Regions from separate parts of the Homo sapiens genome. Here region 2 is linked to region 1. Evidence: promoter capture Hi-C in 16 types of primary human blood cells and fetal thymus (Javierre and others, 2016). All regions are on one chromosome and are shown on one strand. The core of a region is centred on a gene start or on the middle of the fragment in contact, and the rest is flanking DNA. Distances in the headings are between cores, read along the strand shown. Region 1 holds the start of AUH (AU RNA binding methylglutaconyl-CoA hydratase). Region 2 has its middle 7.0 kb from the start of GADD45G.

The links. The method cuts DNA at HindIII sites, captures the fragments that hold promoters and counts their contacts. A CHiCAGO score of 5 or more calls a contact.
Region 2: a fragment that was not itself captured here is called in contact with the fragment with the promoter of AUH in region 1 in 1 of 17 cell types (activated CD4 T cells); the score reaches 5.1 in activated CD4 T cells.

What each region holds. Positions count from the first base shown.
Region 1 is chr9:91,359,458-91,364,243 of GRCh38, forward strand. AUH (AU RNA binding methylglutaconyl-CoA hydratase) reads right to left here and starts at 2,461. Exons shown (of 10, transcript NM_001698.3): 1 at 2,171-2,461. The coding sequence starts at 2,432. RefSeq lists a silencer at 2,192-2,631. The HindIII fragment of the contact is 2,357 bases long and covers 815-3,171 here.
Region 2 is chr9:89,609,655-89,614,440 of GRCh38, forward strand. No RefSeq gene overlaps it. Among named protein-coding and RNA genes, the nearest start is that of GADD45G, 7.0 kb to the left of the region's middle. RefSeq lists enhancers at 1,691-2,239, 4,771-4,786. The HindIII fragment of the contact is 2,072 bases long and covers 1,748-3,819 here.

The sequences.
Region 1 (4,786 bases), core at 1,211-3,710:
TACATTTTTTCTTTTTTTTTAAGAGACAAGGTCTTGTTGTGTCACCCAGACTGGAGTGCAGTGGCTCCATCATAGCTCACTGCAGCCTCAAAGTCCTGGGCAGTCTCCATCTCAAAAGAAAAAAAAAGAAAAGAAAAGGAAATTTGGTTATAGAGCTATGCCTCCTACAACAAATTACAAATATGGAGCCCAGATAACAGATGAGACCTGGTGTATTCTGCACTACTTACCCCCACCCACCTAAAGTGCTGCATGCTGTTTGAGGCTCCTGTGACTAGGAGAGTTATCCTATTCCTTAGAGGCTGCTGAGAGCACCAAATTTTGGACCCACCTCTAAGAGAAATAAAGGCACCCAGGAAACTCCTTCACCTGTAGTACCCTTGACCTCATGTTTTTCTTTGCACTGCTTATTGCTGGTTCAACAGTAAAGCAAAGCAAAGCCTAGGTAATGTTAGCCAAGCCTGAGTCGTCATTCTTGCCAATTCTCAAAGGAGGCGGGGTCAACTTTAAGAAACCATGATGTATGTCCTATCTCATCAGGAAATCAAGGCTAAAGAAAAAAAAAAAAAGAAACCATGATACCCAAAAAAATTTTCGTTTATTATCTTTTATTATCTGATATTCTCTCTTCTGTCCATTCAGATCCTAACTTAAAGTCTGTCCAGACATTCTGCACAAATATTCCTTTAATTGCATTCAAGTCATAACGACCAAAAAAATAGAATATGGTGCATATTAGTAGCTGTACTTGCAATCCCTTTATATCTAACATATTGTTGGTACACTTAACGGAAGTGAAGTCCCGGCATGACTAAGCTTACCCAAAAGATGATGGCATTCAGGCTCTAATCACTCCAGTGCTAGTCTATGCTTCCAGCTGAATTTCTTACTATTCTGCTTATGCCACACTTGCCTTATGTTACGTCCCAAATACACCACACATGTTCACATCTCCATGCCTTTGACCATGTTCTTGTCTCTGTCTGGAATAATAAGTAAGGAATAAAGTCATTCATCACACTCCTGAAGCACTGCTACGTGCTAGTGGCAATTTACATTAACAATCTCATCTCATCTTCATAACAAACCTATAAAGTTGGTATTGTTTTTCCTGTTTTACACGTGAGATAAGTCTGCCCAAGAACCCTCACAAATGGCAAAATCCACTGCCTATTAAAGAATGCCTTGGAACCCCTTTCAAATGGCGAAACCCTGCAGGTATTACAGCCCTTTCCTCTTACCATGCCTTGAAAGTTCACACAGCCTACTAATAACCAGGATCTGCTTCACTACACTAAAACCAATCACGACTTACACGCTTTTCACTTCTGCTTAACAGATTATAGGTGCTCAACAAATGCATGTCAAAATTAAAACACTGGTCCTCTGGCTTAACCCGGAGGTTAAGGGTGGAAACTGCTATTCCACCCTTCACGACCCTTTTAGCTTTTCCCTGCACTGCCAGTGAAAGGAACTGAGCTGTAACAGTATTCCCTAGGATTGTCAGCCTCCTTCAAAGCCTTCAAAGCTCTGTATTGTATTGCTAATGATGTCTCCTCCCGTAGAAGGTAGCTCAAGGGCAAGATCCATACCATCCACATTCTTATCGCCAGAGCTGAGGAAAATAAAAAGTGCTCAAAATTGTTTAAATGAAGTGGAACAGTCCCTCAAGACTAACTTTCTAAGAGAAAATGAACAAGAGGAAAAATTGTTCCAGCTGAGCAGCTTCAAATTTAAGATTCTCCGTAATAATAAAAGGCAGTTTCACCGCAGCTTTTACAACTCCACCACTAATAGCTGAGTTTACAGAAAGCCATTACACAGCAACAATAAAGCCTGGTAGCAAGGATTAAATCCCCAGGGTATATATTGACCTTGGCTTGTCTGGAGCGGAGGGCGTAAGCTGCACTTCTGTTTGCCGCGCTGAATGCGGTCACTTTACAGGTAAGCTGCTCGGGGGTACACGTTTAGGTTATTAAAAGCAAGAAATAGGTGCACAAGGAAGCGGCCACGCTGGGTGAGTAGGGAGGTGAGAAAGGGGAGGGACCCAGGTTCGGTGCGCCTGCCTGACCTCGACCCCGCGTCCTGCCGGCGGACGCTGCACCTTATGCCCGTCCTGAGAGCGAGCGGCCGCCCGCTGCCCCGCGCCTGCCCAGCGTTCGCACCTCACCTCGGTTCTCCTCCTCCAGGTGCCGCACCCGCAGCTCGTCCTCCGTCTTCATCTCAGAGCTGTAGCCCCTTTTCGGGGCGGGACCCCCGGCCGCAGGTACCCAGCCCTGGGCCCAGATCGCCGGGCCCGCTCGCCGGCCTGCCAACGAGCCGGGCAGCCTCAACCCCGGGCAGAGCCACGCACTGCAAGCGGCCACCAGGCGGGCGCCGCCAGCATGCAGGGATCCCAAGGCCCCAGGTGCCGCCGCCACCGCGGCCGCCATGTTGTCTGTTTACGGCGTGGACCTGCGACGGCCGCTCCGCCCCCGCCCGGCGCCGACCTGCCGCGCGCACGCGCACGGCGTCCGGACCCGCCGCCTCGCTCCGGCTTGGCCCCGCCCTCCGGAGCCGTGTTCCCGCCCCTCACTGCCCCGCCGAAGCCCGGTGACCCGAGGCCTTGCCCCATTCTCCAAGCGAGATTGGATGGTTTGTCCAATACAAAAGGAAAGAAAGTAGTTTTCCAAGGTTATGGAATAATTCAGGGAAGACTTTTCTATAAGAACCACCCGGAGGGAATTATCTCCCCGTACTCCCTGGACCATGCCCTGCGGTCCTGTGTTAAGTAAGCTGCAAAAGTGAACAAAAAAGTTTTGTCTCCTCAAGTTGGCTGAAAGTGTGGCAGCCCATCGTTGGTCACTGCCTTACTTATGGATCTCAGGTTGTTGGTTTAGCGTCCCTGATAAGCATAAATGATGTTTACTACGTGGCGTTCAGGAAAAGGATGAGAACAGCAAACAGGCAAAGGAGTTCTTTCTCCAGCCCACCCACTCGTACCGATGTCCCATGGCCCTTCCTGGACGGAAAGAGTCTTACAGGGGTTCAAACAAGCCATACGCTGAGATGGGATTTAGAGTATGTAGCTCTTCCAGAAACTCGGGATATCAATTTAGTGTGTAGGTACTCATCAAAGCACGTTGCAGTATAATTAATGCTACCTAGCTTTTATCAGATCTCTAATGGGAAAGCTTGCATTTAAGAATACTGGGCAGGGGGCGGTGGCTCACGCCTGTAATCCAAGCACTTTGGGAGGCCGAGGCAGGTGGATCACCTGAGGTCAGGAGTTTGAGACCAGCCGGGCCAACGTGGTGAAACCCTGTCTCTACTAAAAATACAAAATTAGCCAGGTGTGGCGGCACACGCCTGTAATCCCAGCTACTCGGGAGGCTGAGACAGGAGAATTGCTTGAACCCGGGAGGCGGAGGTTGCCCTGAGCTGAGACTGCACCATTGCACTCCAGTCCAGGCAACAAGAGTGAAACTCTGTCTCAAAAAAAAAAAAAAAAAAAAAAAAGAATACTGTTTGAAAAGTGTGCTGCTATGAGCATACGTCTAGTGCCACAGAAATTTCTTGTATTTTTTAGTCCTAAGCAAAACATCCTTCATTATGTCCTCAACTTTTATCCAATGTAGAAACAAAAAGTAGACTGAATTCCATTACTGCATCTGCTGTAAAATGATGTTGAAGGCACTTTTATTTTTATTTTTATTTTTTATTTTTTGACAGGTTCTGGCTCTGTCGGCCAGGCTGGAGTGCAGTGGTGTGATCGCCTCTCGCTGCAACCTCTGCATCTCAGGCTCAAATGATCCTCCCACCTCAGCCTCCTGAGTAGCTGGGATCACAGGCACACACCACCACACCTGGGTAATTTTTGTATTTTTAGTAGAGATGGGTGTTTCTATGTTGGCCAGGCTGGTCTTGAACACCTGACATCAAGTGATCCACCCAACTTGACCTCCCAGAATGCTGGGATTACAGGTGTGAGCCACCATGCACAGCCCACTTTTTATTCTATCTTTTGTAAAGTTCCATGCAGGAAAATTTTCCTGAAGTTTACTACAAGGAAAACTTTGCTTCCTTTGTATCTTTCCTCTTTTCTGATAATGATGTACATGTTGACTGCTGGGTGTTGTGATTTTTATTGTTATGGTTTCTTTCTAATTTGGTCTTGTGGTCACCAGAGGGAGGGTAAATCTGGAGGTGACAGGGAGTTCAGCCAGTGGAAGGGGGTCAAGGAAGGGGCACTTGTGGAGCTAAAGCCTCTGTTGGGGTCCAGCGTGTTACCCAAGCAGTTTCCCATGGAAGTTCTAATTGGTGAGTTTAGAACAAGCAGGCACAAGTTCCATGGAGTCACCCTGTCACTGTGAGGTGGTCACTGGAGCCCATCTACACAGTCCATGTGGGTTATGGAGGTCAACAGGTGAGTCAAGCAGGCTGCATTTACCTGTCCCATAGGGAGATGGTCACCAGGAAGCAGTTGCATTAAGCAGATATCTGGATGGATCACATTGAAGAACTGGGAGGAAGCAGAGAACTGGAAACTGTATCAAAGGTGATTGAGCCCTGCTTCTCATATGAGAAAGTTAAACATATTCAAAATGGATACCAAGGCAAAATAAAATTATGAGAATTACTGTACTAGAGATGGCAGCGGCTGCTCCAGACGGCCTACTGCTGCAGCAGGGAGGCATGGCCAGGGCTGCACGCTCTCTGGCGGGAGCCAGGGACAAGCGGGAGACCCACCCCTTCTGAGTTGGGGTGGGAACTCCCTGGTTGCCTCTGCAGCACAGCTGCAGACTGG
Region 2 (4,786 bases), core at 1,534-4,033, 1.7 Mb before region 1:
AGCTGGAAGCCTCGGGGTGCCTGGAATGACTACACGGCTTTGAATTCTGTCCTAGCGCAAACTTATATTTGGTTTTTAGGTCTAGCTCAAACTTCCCTTTATCAACTAGAATAAAATTGCCAAATAATTTCACTCCCTTCATCAACTAATAGTGTGTGAGTAAAGTTCATCCACACAGGGTGGCAGAGTCTAGATACTGGGAGCTGGTGGCTGCACCAACAAGATGCATGGCTTCTTGCCCACTGATGCAGCAGAGGCCTTTAAAACCTCTGTGAGCTCCTCATGCTGGGTAAGACAGGCACTGCCTTGGGCTGCTGGGCTTCAAGGGTAGGACATAGGCTGTCCACCATGTGGTTCAAGCGTTCATTCATTCATCCCCTCATTAATTCAGCTGGCATTTCCTGAGCACATGTGCTGTGCCAGGCACAGTGCTAGGCATGGCCTCCCCACTGATCCTTGCCTGCCTGGAAGGTCCTGACAGCATTGAGTTGAGCCCATGGCTTCGCATTCCCAAGCCCATCCGTCTCTTATTCATCCTGCCTAGAAAACACGGTGAGGACAGGAATGAGAAAGGTGAGTGTGGGGACACCATTTCCCATACCAATTGCTAATTTTATGAGACTCTCATTGGCCAACTAAAAAATATGTCACAGTTGGCATTCCATTACCTTTTTGCATCAAAAACACCCTCGGCTTCTTTCCTTCTCACCATCTCCCTTTTCTTTCTATTTCTTCGATTTTTCTCCAGTCCAAGACTTCCCAAGCTGTGACTTGTGCTTCCCTCCTGAGCACTGCTAGTGGCTTCCAAAGACTGCTTTCCAATTCTACTTCCCTCCCTGCAACCTTCTCTTCTTCTTCCTTTTTTTGCCTCCACCTCCACCTCCACCTCTGCTCTTCCCTCTCGTCCATTTTCTCCCACATCCTTCCCTTCCTCCTCCTTTCTTTCCCCCTTCCCCCTCCACCTTCACTTCCATTTTGGAGCTCCTGCTGTGAACCAGGCCCTGGGGACTCAGACGAGAAACGAGCAGCCTCTGCTCCCAGGAGCTGGGCCTGGCGCCAGCTCTCTGGCCTGGCCTGGGGCTCTCTCCAGTTCCCTTCCATCCACTCAGTGTCCCAGATCCATCCCCTCAAACTTGCTAGGCCCTGACCCTGTGTGGAGGTCCAGCGGACACCTTGTCTGATTGAGCCCAAAGTCAGTCTCTGCCCAGGGCCCGGCCTGGTGCAAAGAGCCATGCACACCCGCATGCTTATTCCATGCCCTTCCCTGGGGGCCAAGGTCCTGATCTTTGAGGTGGGCTTGTGGATGGATGACTGGGCTATGAGGTGGGCTATGATGACAGTGATGAGGAGGTGAAGTTTCCCGGTGAAGAGAGTATCACACCCTGTGCAAACATGGGTGGGCTCCACATATCCCAGTGTGCCCAGGGTGCAGCGCTCTGTCTCCTAGGTTTCTCCATGCTCTGTCCATGCTCTGCTTCTGCCCCTTCCATCCCTGTCCTCAGGGTCCAGCTCTTTACTGTCACCTACCTGAGTCCCCTACTTTTAGGGATGCCAGTATAGGCTTGGGGGTAGCAGGAAGGCTCCTGGTCAGAGGAGCCCCTGCTATAGTGGAGATCATGTGACTCCTTTGGGTCTGGCCCAATCTGCATCTGTGTCCTGGGCCGTGGCTGGAGGGAGCTCACCTGGGCTTCCTTTTCCATTTTCCTGACTCTCCCTAAATCACTCAGTACATCTGACAGAGTCCAGAAGCTTGTTCATCTTGGGTGGAAGGGAAGAGAGTCTGGGGGCTGGGTAGCTTGCTGGGGAGGGTGGAGATGCAAGGGTGGGTGAGGATGAGGGCCACCTGCCACCATCCCTGAGACCATGATCAGGCAAGTGGTGCAGGCAGAAGGCTTGTGGATGACTGTGCAAGCCTGAAAGCACAGCCTGATAACAATCAATAAGACAATTGTCCCGCAAGACTCCCCTCTGAGCTTCAGAATAGAACAGTGTTTCTGGGAGAACAGAGTGGGCTGAGTCCTCCTTAGCTCTTTGTCGCATGGAGGAAAATGCATTAGAATTGACATCTTAGAAGTGGCATCTTCCTAGGAAATACAACCCGACCAAAATGGGTGGAAGAAGGTGCTGTGGAAAGGAGACAGCCTGCGTGTTTTCTATGCCTCTCGTGGAGTACAGGCTCATCCAGCAGAGCTGCCTTCAGAGCAGAAAGAAGGGATGGGTGACCCTTTGAGACTGAGCTGATGGTGTCAGGCTGCAAATCAGTGAAGGTCACATGAAGTGTTGTTTGCTATTGGGGAGCACGGGATTCCACAAAACCTGCCAGAGATGAGCAATTTTCTTTTTATAGAAGTTCAGTAAATGTCTCAGAAGGACCCCTGCAAAGTCCCCGAGTCCCTTTCCCATCCAGATCCAGCACAAGCAACTCCCTCTGAGTACAGCCCATGGGGAGCTGCTCAGACTTGCCCCTGCTGCTGTCCACCTGCTTCTCACCTGGATGCGCAGTGACTGACAGATGAAACTGTCTTACTTATCTTAGTGATATGTCAGCTGATATCTCATCAGAAGGCAGAATTCTACCACAAACCTCCAACCACTGCCTCCTGGTGTTATTCCCACAGTTGTGGGATTAAGGAATGTTGCAGATGTAATTAAGGTTACTAATCAGATGACCTGAAAACAGAGAGATGTTCTGTATGGGCCAAACCTAATACATGAATATGTTAAAAGCAGAGACTGGCTGGTTGGGGAAGCAGAGCCAGAGACTTTGCAGATTTTGGAAGAATTGGACACACCATTGCTGGCTTTGAAGAGGGAGGGGCTCATAGAGCAAGATTTGAGGGTGGCCTCTAGAAACTGAGAGTGGTGCTTGGCTGACAGCTAGCAAGAGAATGGGGACCTGATTCCTACAGATGCATGGAACTGAATTCTGTCAACGACATGGATGAGCTGGAAGCAAACTCTTCCCCAGAGCCTTAGAGATGACCGCAGTCTGGCTGACAGCTTGGTTCAAGCCTTGTGAGACCCTGAGCAGAAAAGTGAGTTGAGCCTGCCTGACTTCAGATCCATGGAACTGTGAGCCCATAAATAGCGAATGTTTTAAACTGCTGAGTTTGCGCTAATTTGTTACTCAGCAATAGGGAACGAATACATCCCAGGAACATCAGGGTCTCCTCCTTCCCTCCCCCTACCTCTCATGCTTCGATTGGGTCTACCTGGACCTCATCTTACAGCTTTTGTACTCCTGTCCTGCACCACCTCCCCAACTCTCGCCTCTCCCTGTGTCCCACAGGGCTTCTCCCTCTCTCCAGACATATCATGCCCTTTCATACCCCGGGGCCTTGGACGTGCTGGTCCAGCTGCGTGAACTGCATGTTTTCTTGAACGGCGACTCTGCTTGCAGGTGGAATGCATGGAGTGCACGGGCGTCTGCCTAGAGAGGAGATGTGGGGGCTGGGCATGGAGGTAGCCGAGGAGTCAGCCTGCGGGCCCTGGGCCCTACCAGAGCTGGGTTCCACCTTAGCATTTAAGGAGGTGGCCTATACAGAGCAGGTGGCAGTGTCGGGACAGGGGGCTCCTTCCAAGGTCACCATGGGATTGGTGGGCAGGCCTGTGCCTGTGGTCCAGTCTCTGGCTCTGATTGGAGCACGCTCATTCCTACAGAACATTGGCAACCCTCTATCGCTCACCTGCAGCTGGGGATTAAAAGACCCAAGGGCCACTGACTGGGCCACTGAATCACTGATTTTCATCCCCAAATCTTTTCCCTTATATGAAATTTCCCAAGTGCTGTCAAATCACAGATTCTTAGTGTTGGAGGGAAGCTTAGTTATTCTTCATTTCACAGGCAAAGAAATGGGCTCAGAGAGGTGAGTCCATAGTTGCAGTGAGGTCCAGGTCTCCTCATCAGGTCTGGGCTTTGTTGACCCAGGGCCTTTTGGTCCAAAGTTGAAACAAAGGCCTTTTAGCATCCCCTCTGGGCTGCTATCCGATGCCTAGATGATGGGCCAAACACAAGCAGGATAGCTATGGAATTCACGGTTCTCCAGAGAAGGAAGCAGATGGGAAAGTGAGACCTGCCTCGCCTAATTTTCTTGTACTACAGTCTTTTGGTTAAAGCATCTCTCATTTTGTTATTGTTGCTTGTGGCTTCCCATTATGAGGAGTTGACGCGTTTGTCTGTCTGTCTAGCCTCTGGATGTGGGACAGGCAGATCAATGAGATCCAGGAAAAGTTTGTGTCTTGCTGTGTGAAAGCTGAGGCTGACCGAACAAAGTCACTCAGTTATGGGAACACTTGTTAAAAGGATGTCAAAGCTTTTATTTTCCCCCCTCAAAGTGGGTCTCTTGTCCTATAACCACTGACCATCTTGATCTCATACCGAGCCATTGATGTGGTTTTACTTCACCTCCAGGGGAGGTGGGATTTGCTACTGAGTTTCATGATTCATTTTTCAGCTTTCAGAGTTTGCTTTGGTTTGAGGTTTACATGCCTGTCAGTGATGAAACATGGTCATTAGAATTGATTCCGATTTTTGACACTTGCGTTATCCCTACCCTGCAATGGTGGATTGGGGTCACTCATTTACAGCCTATCTTCTGCAAGTGGGAAAATTCAAGAGAATAATTAAAATGTGTTGCGTTTTCACTATGACAAAGTTCAGACAAATAGAATTCTAAGGAACAACAGTGAAACAACAGTAAAAAGCAAAATTGAAAGGAAAGGAACAGCTACACTCTGGAGAAAGTATCCTCTTTTGCAGCAAGATTAAATTTCCCTAGAGTGATTC